Linked DNA regions of Homo sapiens: regions 1 and 3 are each linked to region 2. The links are contacts of gene promoters, found by promoter capture Hi-C in blood cells and fetal thymus (Javierre and others, 2016). All regions are on one chromosome and are shown on one strand. Each heading gives the region's core, a stretch centred on a gene start or on the middle of the fragment in contact. The rest is flanking DNA. Distances are from core to core; before and after follow the strand shown.

Region 1 (3,261 bases), core at 579-3,078, 140 kb before region 2:
AACACAACACTTTCCTCTGTATATTAGAGTTCTCATTTATAAGTCTGTTCATACTGAACTTTCAAGCTTTTGAATACCTTGCTATTAACTTATTTATGATACCTTTTATAAATCTATGTTTTCCCAGGATATGAGTCACCAAGTTATATTTATATTGCAATAGCTACAGTGGGTTCATGAGTTCATTTGTTCAATAAATGTTATTAAGCATTTACTATGTGCCAAGTACATAATATTTCATCATTAACCTTTAGCTATATCTTATGCTTGCAACAGAAAAAAAATTTTTAAATATTTTAAAACGTTCTATTTTTTGCTGTTTATTTAATTTAATTTTTTAGTGATGTTAAGACTAGAGACAGCAGATACGTGAAACACCAGATTTCAACTCTGTAACATATTCCCAGGGTGTCTAGAAACTGTATTTGCAAATGATCTTCCCCATTCCACTTTAGGTGGTTTAGTTGAATCTACAGCATTCATATTTTGCACATTCACTTTATTAATTTAATCCCTTTAAAATGTCTTTCTTCAAAAGATTTTACATTTTTATCATGAAAGAAGTTTTCAGTGTCTTGTTAGGGATTTGATTTTTAGACTTTCATTATAGAGTTCATCTTCTCTAATTTATAAATCCCAACCTCCTATAATTAGTTGTTGAGTACACAAACCCATCTACAGTAACCAAGTACAAATTTTGGTGGATCTCAGAATTGGACGGTAGTCCAATGATGATAACTGTATTTTTCTGAGATTCCTCTAGACTGAGCTATACGGCAACATTGGCATCGTATGTACCTTTAAAATATCAAGATTTTGAAAAGTCCTGTAGAAACGAAATACTGTATATTTTTCAACATTTCTGCCAAACCTCATCCCAGCTCTCCAGATTCCCAAGTATATGTCTGGATTCCACTTCGCAAATTCAAGCTTATTTTGAGAAACCTACTTAGATGATATAGAGGACTCACCTGTATGCCACAATTATTAATTTCTCACTAGATTATATCCTTGATAATGTTACATCATACTGTATCAGGAAAAGAAACATATACTTCCTGGGCTATATTTCAAGCCTAACAGTTTGCAGCAGGCCTATAATATCCTATAATATTTACGAACATAAAACCATTCACTGCTACAAATCTATGATATTCCCTGGTTATCACCACTTCCCAGCATTTTCACTGTCTAATCATTGGACACAATAACCATACTCTTATTTTTTAGCTAGGTAGGATACATAGCTAAACTAAAATATAAACATGACTGAAACAATTTTTCCAGTGCCTAATTTGAAATGTAGTCTATGTGGTCTTCTAGCAGCATCTGTACAGGCAGGTAAGATTCTCAATTCAGCTGTTTTGTTTTTTTTTTTTTTTTGATTCGGAATCTCACTCTGTAGCCCAGGCTGGAGTGCAGTGGCACAATCTCGGCTCACTGCAAGCTCCGGCTCCCAGGTTCACGCCATTCTCCTGCCTCAGCCTTACCTGTAGCTGGGACTACAGGTGCCCGCCACCACGCCCAGCTAATTTTTTTGTATTTTTAGTAGAGACGGTGTTTCACCTTGTTAGCCAGGATGGTCTCGATCTCCTTGCCTCATGATCTGCCCGCCTCAGCCTCCCAAAGTGCTGGGATTACAGGCGTGAGCCACCGCACCTGGCCAATTCAGCTGTTTTATAATATTAATGAAGAGAACTTCCATCTTCCTTAATCTCATGACGTGGAAAGTGTCATTACATTATACATCAAGAGAAGAGCTTTTACAATGAGTATGAATACCATTCCAAATTCTCAGTTTGCTTTTAATAAGTCTAACATTGTTACCTAGTATCACTAAGTTCTCTGCACAGCCTGAGGCTCTGTTGAATTTTTTTTCACTCCTTTCACTTCATTCTCCCGAAGTGAATTCTTCATTTTACTCCTTCTAATGAAGGGTCTAAATATGGTGGAAACCCATAATGGGTTTCCAGTTTTCCAGTTCCCTGAAATTGAGTGTTTAAAATCGTGGTAGTTCTGTAGGTCTAGATCTGAAGAAAAAAAAAAAAAAGCTGGGTGTAATCCCAGCACTTTGGGAGGCCAAAGCAGGCGGATCACCTGAGGTCAAGAGTTTGAGACCAGCCTGGCCAACATGGCAAAACCCTGTCTCAACTAAAAATACAAAAATTACCTGGGCGTGGTGGCAGGCGCCTGTAATCCCAGCTCCTCGGGAGGCTGAGGCAGGAGAATTGCTTGAACGCGGGAGCCAGAGGTGGCAGTGAGCTGACACACCATTGCACTCCAGCCTGGGTGACAGAACAAGACTCTGTCAAAAAAAAAAAAAAAAAAAAAGAAGAAGAAGAAAAAAAAAGGAAGGAAGGAAGGGAAAGAAAGAAAGAAAGAGAAAGAAGAAAGTCTTGGGAGTTATTTGTGTTTCACATTACTTCTGGATCTTTTCTTTCACGTGCCAATAGCTAAAAAAGTTTGTTAATCTCATGTGTCAACCTTTGTGCTATAGGAGTTGATAACTTCAATGTCTTCTGATTGTAATACTGTTCTTACACATATCTTGGAGGATAATCTAAAATACATCTTCTGAAATCAGACCTATTGGTTACCTGTTATATGAATTGCTAGAGCTTTCAGATTAACCTGAGCCTACAAAATCTCTTATGGCTTTTATGTACTTATTTCAAAGAGATGGTACAGGATAGTTCAGTCCAACTGTTAAATGTCAGAATCACTTAAGAAGCTTAAATTACAAGTGCCTATAGCCCTATCTGCAGACAATCTGATGTGGTAGCTTCCAGTGGGGTCTGGTCATCTGCATTTTAAAGCAAGTTCCCCTGGATGAGCATTACTCTTTAGTGTTTTAGCAAATATTAGCTCTGAGAAGCTTTTCCTCCTTTGCATGAATACTATTTGTTCAGCCCATCTTCGTTCTTTCCTTCCTTCCTTTCTACCTACTCACCTAGCTACACCCTTCCTACATTTACTGAGCACTGTGCCAGTGCAGAGAGAAGGCAGAAAGGACAAGATGCACTCTCTGTCCTCAGGGGATTCTCAGTCTCTATTCTCTTCATTTTGCCCATTCATTTTTATAGTTCTCAACTGTTTTTGAATAGTCATATTCTGACATGAAGGAGTGTGTGTTTTGCCTCATCTCAGATCTTCTGGGATGAGACTTTCTTAGAGTCTTTGTCACTGTCTCCTGAGGTCAGCCCTGGATGAGGGGAGTTCTTTCTTTCTACGGTTCTGAAAATTAAGAAATATATTTCTCGT
Region 2 (3,173 bases), core at 358-2,857:
GCAAAGGAAATGAAACTAGTATTTTGAAGAGATATCTGCACTCCCATGTTCATTGAAAATTATTCACAATAGCCAAGACATGGAAACAATCTAAAAGCCCATTAACAGATGAATGAACAAAGAAAATGTGGTGTGCATACACAATGGAATATGATTCAGTCTTAGAAAAGGCGATTCTGCCATTTGCAACAACGTAGATGGAACTGGAGGACATTATGCTATGTGAAATGCTCCAGAGACAGAAATACATATATTGTACGATCTCACTTACATGTGGAATCTGAAAAAACAAACCCACAGAAGTAGAGAGTAGATTGGTGGTTGCCAGGGTTCTGGAAGGGGAAATGGGGAGATATTGGTCAAGGGGTATGAAGTTTCAGTTATGCTAAGTGAACATGCTTTGGAAACCTAAGGTATGGTAGTATGAGTATAGTAAACAATACTGCACTGTATACTTGAACTTTCATGAGAGGGTAGATCTTAAGTGTTCTCACTACACATGAAGAAATTGAAAACAGGAATTATGTGAGGTGATAGATATATTTTAAAAGAAAATATTTTTACTTTCAACATGGTCTCATAGGGACTTCTTTTTGATGTTGGTGTTAGACAGGACTCACATATGCCTCGGGTATCTCAGGGTGGCAGACAGACTGTAAAGTGGCCCTGCCTGTCCCTCAACCCTGGTGTTGGGCCTTTGTGTAACCTCCTTCTTTTGAGTGTTGTTGGTGACAGTGACTTGCTTCTAGCCAATAGACTATGGCAAAGGTGATAGGCTGTCACTCCAATGATTGTGTTATGTTATTTAAGACCCCATCTTGTTAGCAGACTCCCTTTAGAGACTGCTGACTTGACGTGAGTGGCCATGCTGAAACAGCTTACCTGGCAGAGACTGTGAGAGGCCTCTAGGACCAGAGAGCAGTCTCCCACCAACACCCAGGAAGAAACAGGGGCTCTCAGTCCTGCTTCGGAAGGCCCCTCAACCACATGATAATGAATTCTCTCACTGGAAATACAAAACCCGTTTACACCATTATCATTTACATCTCAGGATTCATGGAGGATCTAAGTAGAGATCTGGATGGAGAGGTAGACGAAGTGTTTGATTTTGAAGCGATTTGTGGGCAAAGGCAGTAAGGTAAGCATGGATGTGTAACAGGGAAGTACTGAGACAGAATTCTTTGATGTCACTATTTTTCCTGTGTATCTCCTATACTTGTCTCTATATTTAAAGTCTTAAGAATGTTCTGATGGGAAGAGGAGTGTTCATACGGCCTGAGGATGGAACTCAGTCACAGAGACCCAGAAAAATCATAGACATTGATACTAACCATGGCAGCATGCAGGAAAACTGGACAAGGCAAATTAGGGTAATTTGCAGGCCTAGTGGTAACTGACACTAGGATAAATTTGCATCCTGTCTGAGCCAAGAGCACACCTCTCCTCTTTAGCCTGAGCATCCTCCTCTCTAAGTGAGCTCTGGTTCAGATGCAGAGCCTGACCACTCTTTAGCACTCCTAGGAAAGATTAAAAACAGGACTGTGGCTAGGGGCAGGGAGGAGGCCAGGGACCAAGGCACTCAAGTGGGGACTGCAGGAGGGGTCAGAATGCAAGCAGCACTGACGGCCTTCTTCGTGTTGCTCTTTAGCCTGCTGAGTCTTCTGGGGATTGCAGCGAATGGCTTCATTGTGCTGGTGCTGGGCAGGGAGTGGCTGCGATATGGCAGGTTGCTGCCCTTGGATATGATCCTCATTAGCTTGGGTGCCTCCCGCTTCTGCCTGCAGTTGGTTGGGACGGTGCACAACTTCTACTACTCTGCCCAGAAGGTCGAGTACTCTGGGGGTCTCGGCCGACAGTTCTTCCATCTACACTGGCACTTCCTGAACTCAGCCACCTTCTGGTTTTGCAGCTGGCTCAGTGTCCTGTTCTGTGTGAAGATTGCTAACATCACACACTCCACCTTCCTGTGGCTGAAGTGGAGGTTCCCAGGGTGGGTGCCCTGGCTCCTGTTGGGCTCTGTCCTGATCTCCTTCATCATAACCCTGCTGTTTTTTTGGGTGAACTACCCTGTATATCAAGAATTTTTAATTAGAAAATTTTCTGGGAACATGACCTACAAGTGGAATACAAGGATAGAAACATACTATTTCCCATCCCTGAAACTGGTCATCTGGTCAATTCCTTTTTCTGTTTTTCTGGTCTCAATTATGCTGTTAATTAATTCTCTGAGGAGGCATACTCAGAGAATGCAGCACAACGGGCACAGCCTGCAGGACCCCAGCACCCAGGCTCACACCAGAGCTCTGAAGTCCCTCATCTCCTTCCTCATTCTTTATGCTCTGTCCTTTCTGTCCCTGATCATTGATGCCGCAAAATTTATCTCCATGCAGAACGACTTTTACTGGCCATGGCAAATTGCAGTCTACCTGTGCATATCTGTCCATCCCTTCATCCTCATCTTCAGCAACCTCAAGCTTCGAAGCGTGTTCTCGCAGCTCCTGTTGTTGGCAAGGGGCTTCTGGGTGGCCTAGATGGCATGGTTTCCTTATCTAGACCCCCGGAAAAGAAAGGTGAGGATGGCAGAGCTGTGGCCCACTGACATGGAGGTGTTTTCATAGGTAGATGAATACTGGGTACTGTTATGGGGCTCCTCCTCTGGGAAGCGGAGGAGACAAGGAAATCTGGGAACTCTCTGAGCATGCTTCCCTTCTTTGGAATGTTATAAAGATGCAGTCCCATGGATCCCAGAGAGCCAGTATTGCCCAGAAGTTCAGAATATGTTAATATGATGTCGTGCTACTCCTTACGTTTGTACCCCTTTGTTATCTGGAAGGCTTCGATTAAAAGTGTTGATTAACTGTGCCATCGCATCTCCACTGCCTTTCAGAAAGTTAAGAGCAAATATTTGCCTCTATGGCTGAACTGAGATGTGGATAGTGAAGCGACAGCCTTCTTGAGGACAAATGTCATGGTTACTACGAGAGCCCCAAGGGACAGGCAGTTGTGGCAGGCAGTGGCCTGGGCTGTGAGTTCTGATTGCCCTTTACTGCATGAAGATACTTTGTCTCCACACAAACTTGGATAATCTGGTTTTAATTTTATTAAGTTTACTGGAAGGTTTCTTTACACCACCCAGTTTCTTTTCTCATTAACATTTCTGACTTCAATTTTCT
Region 3 (3,201 bases), core at 285-2,784, 240 kb before region 2:
TTTTTTGTTGTGCCTTTGTCCGGCTTTGGTATCGGGATAATGCTGGCCTATTAGAATGAGTTAGGAAAAATTCCCTCTTCTTCAATTTTTCAAAATAGATTGAGAAAAGTTGATGTCAGTTCTTCTTTAAAATTTTAGGAAAATTCACCAGTAAAGCCATTCTGCCCTGGGCTTTTCTTTGTTGGGGGACTTTTTATTACACAATATGTGACTGTATTAGTCCATTTTCATACTGCTATGAAGAAATACCCAAGACTCGATAATTTATAAAGAAAAAGAGGTTTGAGCCGGGCATGGTGGCTCACGCCTGTAATTCCAGCACTTTGGGAGGCTGAGGCAGGAGGATCACCTGAGGTCAGGAGTTCAAGACCAGCCTGGCCAACGTGGTGAAATCCCATCTCTTCTAAAAATACAAAAATTAGCCAGGGGTGGTGGCGGGTGCCTGTAATCCCAGCTACTCAAGAGGCTGAGGCAGGAGAATCGCTTGAACCCAGGAGGCAGAGGTTGCAGGGAGCTCAGGTCACACCCAGCCTGAGTGACAAAGCAAGACTCCATCTCAAAAAAAAAGAGGTTTGATTAAGTCTTCTTACATATTATCAAACAATACATGACTGCATTAGTCCATTTTCATATTGCTATGAAGAAATACCTGAGACTGGGTAATTTATAAAGAAAAAGAGGTTTGATTAAATCTCATTACTCATTATTAGTCTGTCCAGGTGTTCTATTTCTTCCTGGTTCAATCTTTGTAGGTTATATGTGTCCTGGAATTTATCTATTTTCTTATTTCCTCTAGGTTTCTCAGTCTGTTGATGTATTGTTGTTTATAATAATTTCTAATGATCTTTTTTCATTTCTGTGGTATCAGTTGTAATGTCTCCTTTTTTGTTTCTGATTTTATTTCTTCCCTCTTTTTTCTTAGTCCAGCTAGTGATTCGTTGACTTTATCTTTTCAAAAAGACAAGCTTCATTTTGTTAATCTTTTGTATTTTTGTCTCTATTTTATTTAGTTTTATTCTGACCTGTATTATTTCTTTCCTTCTACTAATTTTAAGTTTGGGTCATTCTTGCTTCTCTACTTCCATGAGATACATTTTGAGGTTGTTTATTCAAACTCTTTCTACTTTTTTGATGTTGGCATTTACTGCTATAAAGTTCTCTCTTAGTAATATTTTTGCTGTATCCCATAGGTTTTGGTATGTTTTGTTTCTATTCTCATTGTTTCAAAAAAAATTTACTTCCTTCTTATTGCTTCATAGATCCACGTTTGTTTGAGTGGACATTGCTTACTTTCCATGTATTTATACAGTTTCTGAAGTTCCTCTTGTTGTTTTAGAGTTTTGTTTCATTGTAGCCTTAGAAGATACTCAATACTATTTTGATTTGTTAAAATTTCTTGAGATTTGTTTTGTGGCATAACATACAGTATATCCCAGAGAATGTTTCATGTGCTGATGAAAATTATTTTCTGCTGCTGTTGGATGAAACATTCTGTCAATGTCTATTAGGTCTATTTGGTCTACAGAACAGTTTAAGTCCAATGTTTCTTGTTGATTTTGTCTAGAGAATCTGTCCAAAGCTGAAAGTGGTCTGCTGAAGTTCTTACCTATTATTGTATTGATACCTATCTCTCTTTCTTTAGCTCTAACAACATTTGCTTTATATATCTGGGTGCTCCAGTGTGCAGTGCATATATATTTACAATTGTATGTCCTCTTGCTGAATTGGTTCCTTTATCATTTTATAATGACTTTCTTTGTCTCTTTTATGTTTTTGACTTTGGTGATTTTCTGTACTGATAATGTCTGATTCCTTTCTTTCTCTCATTCATGTATCTGATCTACCAGTGAGTTTTATACTTTTGTGTATTTTCAAGATGGTAGTTATTGTCCTTTCACTCCCAGATGTAGGACTCCTTTAAGGCAAGTCTAGTGGTGATAAATTCTCTTGGTTTTTGCTTGTCAGAGAAAGACTTTACTTCTCCTTCATTAGTGAAGGATAGCTTTGCTGGGCATAGTATTTCTGGGTAGCCATTTGGTTTTTTGTTTTGTTTTGTTTTCTTTCAGCACTTTGAATATGTCATCCCATTCTCTCCTGGCCTGTAAAGCTTCTGCTGAAAAAATCTGCTGTTAGTCTGATGGCGATTCCCTTATATGTGACTTGACACTTTTCTCTTGCTGTTTTTAGAATTCTCTCTTTGTCTCTGCCTTTTGACAGTTTAACCAAAATGTGCCTTGGAGAGGACCTTTTTGGGTTGAATCTATTTGGGAATGTTTGACCTTCCTTTATCTGGATGTCTGTATCTCTCACATGACTTAGGAAGTTTTCAACTATTCTTTTATTAAATACATTTTCTGTGCCTTTTCCCATGTCTTCTGAAACTCTCAAAATGCAAATATTTGTTCACTTAATGGTGTCCCATATGTCACGTAGGTTTTCTTCATTCCTTTTATTCTTTTTTTGTACTTTATATCTTTTTGTCTGACCGGGCTATTTCAAAATATTTGTCTTCAAGTTCAGAAATTCTTCTGCTTGATCTAGTCTATTGCTGAAGCTCTCAACAGTACTTTTATTTTATTCATTGAATTCTTCAGTTTTGAAATTTCTATTTGGCTTTTTTATTATAGCTATTCCTTTTCAAATTTCTCATTCAGGTCATTAATTGTTTCCTTATTTCTTTGTATTCCCTATTTGTGTTCTCTTGTATCTTGCTGAGTTTCCTAAAGATCATTATTTTGAATTCGTTTTTGGACATTTCATAGATTTCCTTTTCTGTGGGGTCTGTTATTGGAGAATTATTGTGTTCCTTTGGAGGCATCATGTTTCTTTGCTTTTTCATGTTTCTTGTGTCCTTATGTTGATATCTGTGCATCTGGCACAACAGTCACTTCTTCTAATTTAATTAAATAGCTTTAATAAGGAAATATTTTTTCCTGTGGATTTATCTGTAGTCTCAGTTGGGTAGATTGCTTTGGCTTTATTTCTGAGTGAGTGCAATAGTGCAGTTTCCATATGATTTATTTGGCTGTAGTCAACATCACTGGTGTCTACCAGTTCCTCATTTACTTAGACTGTAGTTGTTTGTGGAGGCTGTGGAAAAATTTTGCTGGAAATGAGGACATTGGGCAGGCCAGTCTTTGGTTCCCTGGTAGGCACATGCAGGTATGTGGCAGCCCCACTACTTGAAGGGGCAGGTTTTCT

The links. The method cuts DNA at HindIII sites, captures the fragments that hold promoters and counts their contacts. A CHiCAGO score of 5 or more calls a contact.
Region 1: a fragment that was not itself captured here is called in contact with the fragment with the promoter of TAS2R41 in region 2 in 1 of 17 cell types (M1 macrophages); the score reaches 5.0 in M1 macrophages.
Region 3: a fragment that was not itself captured here is called in contact with the fragment with the promoter of TAS2R41 in region 2 in 2 of 17 cell types (M0 macrophages and M1 macrophages); the score reaches 6.0 in M0 macrophages.

Annotation. Positions count from the first base shown.
Region 1 is chr7:143,334,295-143,337,555 of GRCh38, forward strand. The region is part of intron 12 of CLCN1 (chloride voltage-gated channel 1); the gene reads left to right. Among named protein-coding and RNA genes, the nearest start is that of CLCN1, 20 kb to the left of the region's middle. The HindIII fragment of the contact is 1,801 bases long and covers 929-2,729 here.
Region 2 is chr7:143,476,266-143,479,438 of GRCh38, forward strand. TAS2R41 (taste 2 receptor member 41) reads left to right here and starts at 1,608. Exons shown (of 1, transcript NM_176883.2): 1 at 1,608-2,531. The coding sequence starts at 1,608. The coding sequence ends at 2,531. The region is part of intron 2 of EPHA1-AS1 (EPHA1 antisense RNA 1); the gene reads left to right. The HindIII fragment of the contact is 17,498 bases long and covers 1-2,472 here.
Region 3 is chr7:143,234,496-143,237,696 of GRCh38, forward strand. It overlaps LOC105375546 (a long non-coding RNA gene), which reads left to right and starts at 3,080. Exons shown (of 3, transcript XR_007060569.1): 1 at 3,080-3,162. The HindIII fragment of the contact is 1,142 bases long and covers 964-2,105 here.